Regions from separate parts of the Homo sapiens genome. Here region 2 is linked to region 1. The links are contacts of gene promoters, found by promoter capture Hi-C in human tissues and cell types (Jung and others, 2019). All regions are on one chromosome and are shown on one strand. The core of a region is centred on a gene start or on the middle of the fragment in contact, and the rest is flanking DNA. Distances in the headings are between cores, read along the strand shown. Region 1 holds the start of DLK1 (delta like non-canonical Notch ligand 1). Region 2 has its middle 130 kb from the start of LINC02285.

Evidence for each region. The method cuts DNA at HindIII sites, captures the fragments that hold promoters and counts their contacts. A contact is called where the count stands out against the background at its distance.
Region 2: a fragment that was not itself captured here is called in contact with the fragment with the promoter of DLK1 in region 1 in 1 of the 25 tissues and cell types used here (stomach).

What each region holds. Positions count from the first base shown.
Region 1 is chr14:100,724,855-100,729,367 of GRCh38, reverse strand. It overlaps DLK1 (delta like non-canonical Notch ligand 1), which reads right to left and starts at 2,476. Exons shown (of 5, transcript NM_003836.7): 1 at 2,233-2,476; 2 at 909-972; 3 at 302-432. The coding sequence starts at 2,299. The HindIII fragment of the contact is 15,317 bases long and covers 1-4,513 here.
Region 2 is chr14:101,246,638-101,251,398 of GRCh38, reverse strand. No RefSeq gene overlaps it. Among named protein-coding and RNA genes, the nearest start is that of LINC02285, 130 kb to the right of the region's middle. The HindIII fragment of the contact is 4,197 bases long and covers 745-4,761 here.

The DNA.
Region 1 (4,513 bases), core at 1,227-3,726:
CCCAGCTGTATGTGTATTTTGTGACTCTTTATTCAACAGGCAGCTCCCTGGCCCCCACGCCATGTTCCCTCTAGGTGCTGGGTGCTGATGGCGCAGAGAAGAGCAAAATAAAGTCCCTACCTCTGAGGAGGCATTCGGTACCCACAGGAAATTTATAAACAGATCTTTAGAATACAGGGCACGGAGTGTGCAGGAATGAGGAAGTGAGGAACACCAGCAACAGGAGACTGGGAGGAGGTGGTAGGGGCTAGGGCAGGCAGGTAAGGACGCAGAGCTGAGGTGAACAAAGGCGAGTGCCAACCTCTATCACAGAGCTCCCCGTCCCAGCCGTCGGTGCAAATGCACTGCCCGGGTTCTCCACAGAGTCCGTGAAGGCAGCCGGGAGAGGTCACGCACTGGTCACAAAGGGGACCCTGCCAGCCAGGCTGGCACCTGCAATGGGTGGGGGAGAAAGGTGGGGACATATGAAGAGGGCAGGGGTAGAGAGGCAGCTCAGGCTACTTTCTGTGGAACCAAGGACCCTTGGGGGTCTTTGCACAGTGGCAGCCGGTGGTCCTGGGAAGTAAACACCAGCCACCTGAATGGGAAAACTTAAAGAGAAAACATGCCAAGCTGAGGGGGCCGACTTGGAGGGGCCCCGAGATCCCGGGGGAGTGCTGCGTTTTGCCGCAGTGGCCTGCAGTGGTCCCACCTGCCCCCCCACCTCTGAGAACGCAGACAGGAGCTGTGGCTGCCCCCCCCCCGCCCCCCCCATCTCCCCAGCTCGCCCCACCAGTTTTCTGCAGGGGCCCGGAAGCTGTTTGCTGCAGCGTAGTGGCCAAGCCCCCTATTTTTTTCTGCCTGACTTCACGACTCCCCAGGCTTCTGCGTGGCCCCTACAAGCTGCCTCTGAGGAGCCACTCTATTACCTGCAAACATTGTCATCCTCGCAGAATCCATTTTGGGGGTTGCAGGCCGGGAAGCATTCAGCCCCTGAGGTACAAGAAAGGTTATACAATTCACCCCACCAGGCCCCAGGCCAAGGCAAAGGCTGTCTTCGCCCACACAGCCCACCACTGCCCTCGAGGGCACCAACAGCCCTCTTGGGTCCTACCAGCCTGGCACACAGTAGGCACTTCCTATCCGAGCATGGATGGGGCTCAGTGCACTCAGGAAAAACATCTCTGCCACGTTCCCAGCAATGAAATGACCACAGTACACTCTCCCTCGTTCTTAGGAGCAGGAGAAACACCTTCTCCTCGGACTCCCAAAAGCAAATACGACACCTCAAGTCCTCCTAACAGCGGGGACGGGGACCGTGGAGGGAAATATGTTGAGCCCTGGGCATGCAGCCTGACCGTCACTTTTGCAACCTGAGCTGAAAAGAGGAGCAGATTTTGAGGTGTTCAACTCCGGGAAAGCCCAGACAGGTTCACCTGGTGGGCGCCCCAGTAAGGCGTCTGCATTCTTTTTAAGGTTCATCCCTATTAAGCCGGGCACCCAGGTCAAATCTTCCCTCTTTCCCCTACCCCAGACTCTTCGCATTAAAAAAACGATGACGACACAGGGTTTTGCTTAGCGGGCTGAGGTTGCAACAACACTGCTTAGAGATTCTGACACTTTAACAGGCACCTACTGTGTGCATTTACTCAACCAGCTCCCCAGCTTTCTAGACAGCCCCCTTACAACCACTGGTGCAATGAGTGGGGGGGCGCTGCAGGAAGGGGGCAACTCTCTCGCTGTCAGAGACAGATGGCCGCTGCAGACAGAAGTGTCGCAGCCCCTCACCTACAGAAACGCGCCACGCAGGAAGGGCTCAGGCTGGGCTTCTCTGGGAATTGGGGGCTAAGACGGCAAAGTCGTCCCCCACTCCCGCCCCGAGACCTGTTCCAGAACGCTCACACAGGGACACCCCAAAGTTGCACCCCAGAGTATTTTCATAGAAGACTCCACAACAGCACCCCATTTTTCCATACCTCCTTGCTCAGCGCACCGACACCCCTCTGGCGCCACTTCTGCAGGGCGGGAAGGGGCTGGGGGTCTCACACATCCCCTGCGCCCTGGGACCCCTGGGACGGGCCTTGGCATGCGAGCGTGGTGGGTAGGGCGAGACAGGCACAGCGCGGGGCTTAGGGCTAGGCGGGACGGGCGGAGTTGGGGCTCACGAGACGGGGCGTGCGGGGCACCGGGCGGCCGGCGGGGAGTCGCAGGCTTCCCCAGAGGGGGCGCGAGCCGGGCCGCCGGGGAACTCACCATAGGTGCTGTGGCCGAAAGCCAGCAGGAGCAAGAGGACGCGCAGGAGGGCTTCGGTCGCGGTCATCTCTGGGCGGCCGGGGTCGCGGTCCCGGGAGCGGTGCGGGCGCGGGTCCGGCTCCTGGCGCCGCACTGGGCTTCTGGTTGCGGACGCGAAAGGGGGCGCGGGCGCGCAGCGAGGGGAAAGCCAGGGCTGCACCGGGCTGCGCGCTGCGCTCTCCACCGCCGCTGCCGGGGAGCTGCCGCCGCCGCCGCGCGCGCCGCCCTTTTCGTACCGCCTCCCCCCTCGCGGCCCCCGCCCCCCGCCCCCGCCTCCGTGCGCACGGGGCCGGCGCCGGCCAGTCCCTGTGACCCCCTCCCCTCGCAGGGCCGCCCCCGACCACGGCGGCGTCCCAGAAGCCCGCTCGCGCACACGGGTGCACTCTTGGCTAGACGGGCACAGGTATCCCGCGAGCGTTTGGTACACGTTCCCTCACACTGTACAGCACGCGGCCGCCGCGCACATACAGGCCTGCCTAGGACAAGTCGCAGGAATCGAACCTGGGCCGCAGACCTCCCCGGAGAGCACAAATCCGCACGCAGGAACACCGAAACACTTATCGCTGAAGTCCCGGGCACACGTGCAATGGTTAGATACCCAGGAAAACACAAAGGCGCACTATGAAGATGTGAACTAAGCACATAATTACACACGCACACAGAAAAACCCCCAGGAAAAGCCCGACGCCCCCTGTACCCCTGGCCATGAAGACGCAGAAAAATGCAGTTGCCCCGTGGCAACCCACACCCCGCAACGGAAACGCACACGGCAACTCAAACACACTGTAGCCCAGACGCCGTATAGACACAGTCCTAGGTGGCAGAGGGTCAAGCGGACCTGCGGTTACCCAACCATGGGCATCCTCCCCCATGTGCCGACCCCCTGCACACAGACGCTTACGCAGAGCCACCTGCACACCCAAACACGCAAACACACGTATAAACAGACGGACACCCGTGCCCGCATTCAGTCACACCCACCCCCGCACACACAGCATCTCAGTCAGGGCCTTAGCCGCGCTGAAACACAAATGCACCGACTCTTACGCACACATGTACGCACAGCCATGCACCTGATACCCACAAGCACACATACCCAGCTGACTCGTGGTCACACACACTGACAAAAACATATACGCAGTCCCCACACACACACGATCGCATCTGTCTTTGTCCACAGTGGCATGCATGGGCAGCCTCACCAATGTGCTCTCACATACACACAATAGCACTCCAGGCACTCGGCACGTATTCCAGACTCACTGGGAGACCTTCTCTGAGGGGTCGCCCGCTGGAGAGGTGGAGGTAGAGGATGCTGATTGCCAGAGACCCTCTTCCTCTGCAGAGCTCCCAGGGAGAGGGAGTGCTCCTCAGACACCCCTCCTCCCCATTGCCCCCGGCTTAGGCTTAGAGCCCTGCTGGAGAGGAAAGCTCTGCACCCCTGCACCCAGTCTGGATGGGGGAGGCTCAGAAAGATAGGGAGGGAGAGGGGTAGGAGGGGATTAAAGATATTTCACCTCCTGGGGGAAGGGTCCCAGGCGTCCCAATCTTTGGGTGGGTCGTTTAGGATACTTAATTTGCATATATTAATTTGCATACATATCCTAGATGCAGGGAGTGGGTGCCCACCCAGCTCGCGGCCTCCCCTTCTTCACAGTGCTGCAGGGGGGTGTGATCTCACCACTGTGAACCTGGAGGCTGGATGCTTTGACCTCCTGGCCCTCTAGTCCAGCCCTGGCAGGTCTGAGCACAGATTTCCCATCTTAGCCATAGATGTGGGAAGGCAGGCCCATGGGCATCCCCAGGCCCACCACCCCTAAGTCAGTGCTCCAGTAAGGCACTCGGGATGGGTACAGGGATGGACAGAGACCAGAGCTGCTCTGGGCTGGCTCCAAGGAGGCTGGAGGGAAACTCCCAGCCCCTGGTGGAAGATATCCCTTCCCTGATGTTATCTGCAGAATGCCCAGATAGGTAGGGGCTGCTGGGAACGGCTTTGGGGACAGGCTGTAGGGAGCAGTTGGGGTGCCCACTGTGTGCCTGCCACATGCCCTTGCATTCCTGTGACCCTACTTTCTTCCGTGGACTCTTTCCTCAAGTCAAGAAACCAACTTCAGTGATGGAAGGTCCTTTGCCCAAGGCCCTTGGCCTAGAACGAGAGTGTCTGGCTGACAGGCCCAACCCTGGGTGCCAATGTCCACTGCATGGTGATCGCCAAGGTCTTCCTGACCAGGGTTCCTCTCTT
Region 2 (4,761 bases), core at 1,594-4,093, 520 kb before region 1:
TCAGATCCCAGCTTCTTGTTCCCTCCCTCCTTGAGCTCCTGCCTTCTTCTGGTCCTGGTCCTGGTCCTTCCCTGCCTGAGACTGGCCACGCCTTTCCAGCCTCATTGCTGCCCACCCTCCCCCTGGGCCCTGAGGTTGGATTTCCAAGGGCTTTGTTCTGGGTGCTCTTCCTGCATCTCTGCATCGCCCTGGGGAACTTCATCTGGTCCCAAGCCCCCACCACCGTCTGAGGGTCTCCTCCTTGGACCACCTTTGACCTCTAGACTTCACACACCAGCCCGCATCCTTGGCAAGCTAAATATGGCATTGCAGAGCTGAGTCAGAATCTTCCAGCACACTTTCGTGAGTGTCACTCAGTAACCCGGGCACCTAGGACAGCCACTGCCCAAGGACGCTGCCACCGCATGTCTTCCTGGTACATGGGGGATGCTCAGGGTAAGCATCGGTGTGAACCGGGGTCCGCTCTGTTTGCAGGGTCCTTGTCCCCTCAACTCCATCATACCTCCTCCATCCCCAGTGAGTGCTGGCTCATGCTCTAAGACGTCCTTCAAGCTTGCCCCATCTGCAACCTTCTCAGGCCGTGGGCTTGGAAGTGGCCTCCTTCGTGTGCTCCAAGGTGGTCCAGGCAGGCCCCCTTGTCCACCCTGATCACATGTGGCAGCTACCAGCTGCTCGTCTCCTAACCTAGACTGTGAGCTCTTGGGGGTGGGGCCGGGGTTTACCTGCCTCTGCACCCCCAGCACCTAGCACAGAGCTTGGGGCCTGCAGGAGCTCAGCAGATGTGGAACATGCACTGCCCTGCACCTGTGGCTGAGACCCTGGGAATCCTGCGTGCTGCCTTGCATTGCAGACAGAAGGCGGGAGTGCTCGCCTTTTCCCAGCTAACGCCCGTCACCGTAGGAGTCAGCACCTTGCGCGCAGCCTCCGTCTGGAAGCTTTCCAGTGCCAGCTCCCATGACCCTGAGTGTGGAGTCTCCTCTGCAGGAAGCAAGCGCCTCCACTGTGTGGCTGGGGGCTATCTAGACAGAGGGGGGCCAGGGCACCTCTGATCTGGCCTCCCTACCTTGTTTTGTGGTTGAGCAAAGCAGTGCTTTAAAGGGAATTTATTTTTCCAAATTGCAGAACAAAGAACACGATGTTTAGGAAGAAAGCACATTGCTTACATTTGAAAAAAATTAGCAGCATTATATAATGAAAGACACTTGAAAGTGTTGACTCACCCCGGGCTGACATACATCTTTGACTAGTTTGTGAAATACTCATAAAATTACATCCTGTTAATTTAAGACTTCTTATGCTAATTTTCAGTCAATTTTATTTGCCTAAGAAATTTATTGGTGGCCTTCAGGGTAACAGCCGGGTTTGGTCCAAAGATGTGGGATTCTTGTTAAAAACACCATGCCAGGGAAGAGAAACAGAACTCAATGTTAGGGCCAGAAGGATGGGAGGACAGCGTCAGGGCGGGGTGGGCTCTCGTGGTCTCCCCAGGCCCTGCCCTCAGAACCGGGCAGGGTGATGCTGACTCAGACCCCGCCCTGGTCCACACAGAGCGGAGCAGCCCTGGTTGAGTGCAGCACCCCTACTTTATAAAGGAGAGAGATGAGAGACCAGAACCCTTGACATTGCCCCTGAGCGGAGATCCACTGCTCAATGCACCCCACAAGTTGAAGTCGGCAGGAGGAGGTGGTTCTAGATGAAGAACATTTGGGTGATGTGTGAATTTATACAACAGCAAAAGGAGGCCACTTTTGTAAACTGGCATCCATCTCTTTGGGCAGGGAGGCAAGTTTATATTTGGGGCCCCCAAGCTGAGCCGGCTTCCTGGATGTGCAACAGGGCCCGGCTCTTGGGGTTGGATGTTCTGCTGTCTCTATCTTGAAGTTCCTGATAAGGAGCCCACATTCCCATTTTGCACAGAGCCCCACGAATCACATGGCTGGTCCTGCCCTCCGAAAGCAGATCACAGAACAGAGGACAGTGAAGGGCCCACGGTTACCACCCTCCGCCCAACACCAGACAGTTCTAACAATGTTCTCCTGATCTTGGCCTCACCCACCTTCCCTTCTCTAAAAGGAGGATCGAGACCCTCATGGCACCTGCATCCTGGGAGAGCCCTGCCATGGCACGGTTCTGGAAGTGAGGGCCACAGCCCCCGGGGAAGCTCCCCCAAACAGCCTCCTTCCTGTTGACCAGGACAGAGATGGATGGTCAGTGGTTCCCTGGGGTGGAATCCCCCTCCTCACCTCCAAACCCACGTACACACATGTGGCATGTTATGCCCATGCTAACCCTGAAATTCACCAGGAGCCACCGCCCTGTGCCAGAAGAGGCAGAGGATGTGCTCCCCATGCAGCCCGTGGGGAGGGCGTGGCAGGCAGGGTTGCTGTCTCACCTCCCCAGGCACCTGGCTGCTGTGGCCTGGTCTCGGGGCTCCTGCTACTGGGTTTTAGGCCCCAGCCATTCCCGCTTACAGCCACCCCAGGGCGGCTGGCCCCGTAACTGTCTCTGGCAAGCATTAGAGATAGGGCAATTTTGAGAACACGACCAGCTCAGAGAGTGGTGGTCTACCACAGATGGCTCGTCTCCATCCCTCTTAAGAAGTCTGGGCAGATGTTTTCTGCTGGATGTTGGTTGTTGGAGGTGGGAAGGATGGTAGTGGGGGAATCTGTAGGGTGCCGACTGATGTCACCTTAGGTCAAAAAAGCCCTTCTGGAGGGGCTGCTCTTTCCCAGCTTCTCCGACCAGGGACCACCAGATGGGCCATGACAACGCCTGCGTAGGCCGCCCCTGCTAGTCCAGTGCCTCCCGTCTTTCCAGGGGACCATTTGTAGCCCCATGCAGCTCTGTGCAGGCCTTGCTCCTGTCCCTTGTCCTCTACAATTGGGCAGTGCCCCTTCCTTACACCTGACGGTTCCCCGTGGGCCAGGCCTGTGTCAGGTTCTGGGAGCACAGGGAAACCTCCTTGCCACCTGCCCAAGCAGTGCCTGGCCCCGGGGAGAAGGGGAGGGCCATGGCTTGGAAGTCTCCAGAGGAATCATCCCTCCTGGCCCTGAGAGGCCTGTTTGCCCTCATCTGGGGTGCCCGGGGTGTGCTGTGGATCCCATCTAGTTTGTCCCCTCCCTGTGAACCCAGGGTTCCTCCAGGATTCCAGCTGGGCTCTGTTTGAGTGGAATTGTCTTGTGTTTGCACCCTCTCCCGTTATTCTGGTCTCGAGTTTTTCTCTCTATCCATCTTCTCTCATTTAACATAGGTTTCCCCAACACCCCCCGACCCCCGCACCAGGTTCTGAGACCCACCAAGATACAGAGTGTGATAGAACTCAGACCCCGACCTCGAGGAGCAGAGGGGGAAATTGAGGCCTGGAGAGGGAGGAGACCAGTCCTCATGTATCTGACAGCCTTCTCCTGAGACAGACGTTAAGAAACAGTTCCTGGTGGGGACACAGGACACCTGGTCACTGAGCAGAAGCTTCAGAGAAAATGTAATTCAAAGCAGAGACCTGGAGACTGCATAAGGACTGACCAATGGAAGAGGTGGTGGAATGGGTAGAGTCCCAGAAAGGAGAGGCACAGGTGCAAGCAAGGACACACACTGGAGGGAGGGGCGGCTGGGGAGGTGGGCGGAGGCCGAGTCCCCCAGGGCATCGCGTGGTGGGAGGTGGGGTCTGGGACTTGGCGCTGGGGTGGACCCTCATTGCAGGAGAGGAGACCTGGAGTGCACTCTGGCTGCAGTGCAAGGCATGGGCTGGAAGGCAGCAGGCCGAGGGTCATCAGAACCAGAAGGTCCAGGACAGGCTGAGGCCTGGAGAGGGGCACAGAGCGATGCAGGGCAGTAGGTAGAGTTGGGGGAGACTGTGGAGGACTCGAAGCACGCCTGGGATGGACTCACCGTCCATAGGGCAGGAGCAGAGACATCCGGAGGGTGCTGCTTGGGAGGCAGCGTCCCTGACATGCCGTTCACCATATGGAGCTCCCGGGGGTTTGTGGGGTGGGGGCAGTGCGGGGAGATGAAATTAGGGTGCGGCGGCTCTGAGAACCCTGTGTTGTGTCCTCTTGGCAGCTGGAACTTAGATCTGGAAATCTGAGGCCCCAAGAGGCAGATTTTCCCATCGTCCTTCCACAGGGATGATTGGATCCACAGGACGAAGTGGAGAGGAAAGGCCTTGGGGTGCCGGGGGCTGGGGAGAGGGGTTCACCAAGGAGGGTCCTGCGGAGGCTGGAGGTTTGCAGTGAGAGAGCTGGGAGGATGGGAAGCTGGGGTCAGAGATGGAGTCTGAGGATGTGGGCTCAGAGGATGAGGGGCAGGGGCGGCTGGATGGCACTCCTAGACACAGCCTTGTCCTCTCCTCAAGGTGCACCAAGTGGACGAAGAGCAACTTGTGAAGGGCCTACGGTGCCTCCAGGAATGGAGGGCTACCTGTGAGGCAGTGGTGTCTTCCTGAGACATGTGGGAGTTGAGGAGGCAGGCTGAGCGAAAAGCTGGGGGCTCTGGGGAACAGATGCAGGTCTGTCTCTGAGCCTAGAGTGGGAAGATGCAGAAGATGAAGGCATGAAAACTACGGGAGGAGTTCTACAAGTGGTGTGGGGGGCATTGGACGCCACAGGCATAAAACAAACCTCACGTCCTATCTAAACCTCGCATCCTATCTAAACCTCGCATCCTATCTAAACCACGCATCGTTTATCTAAACCTCGCATCCTATCTAAACCTCGCATCCTATCTAAACCACACATCCTACCTAAACAACGCATCCTATCTAAA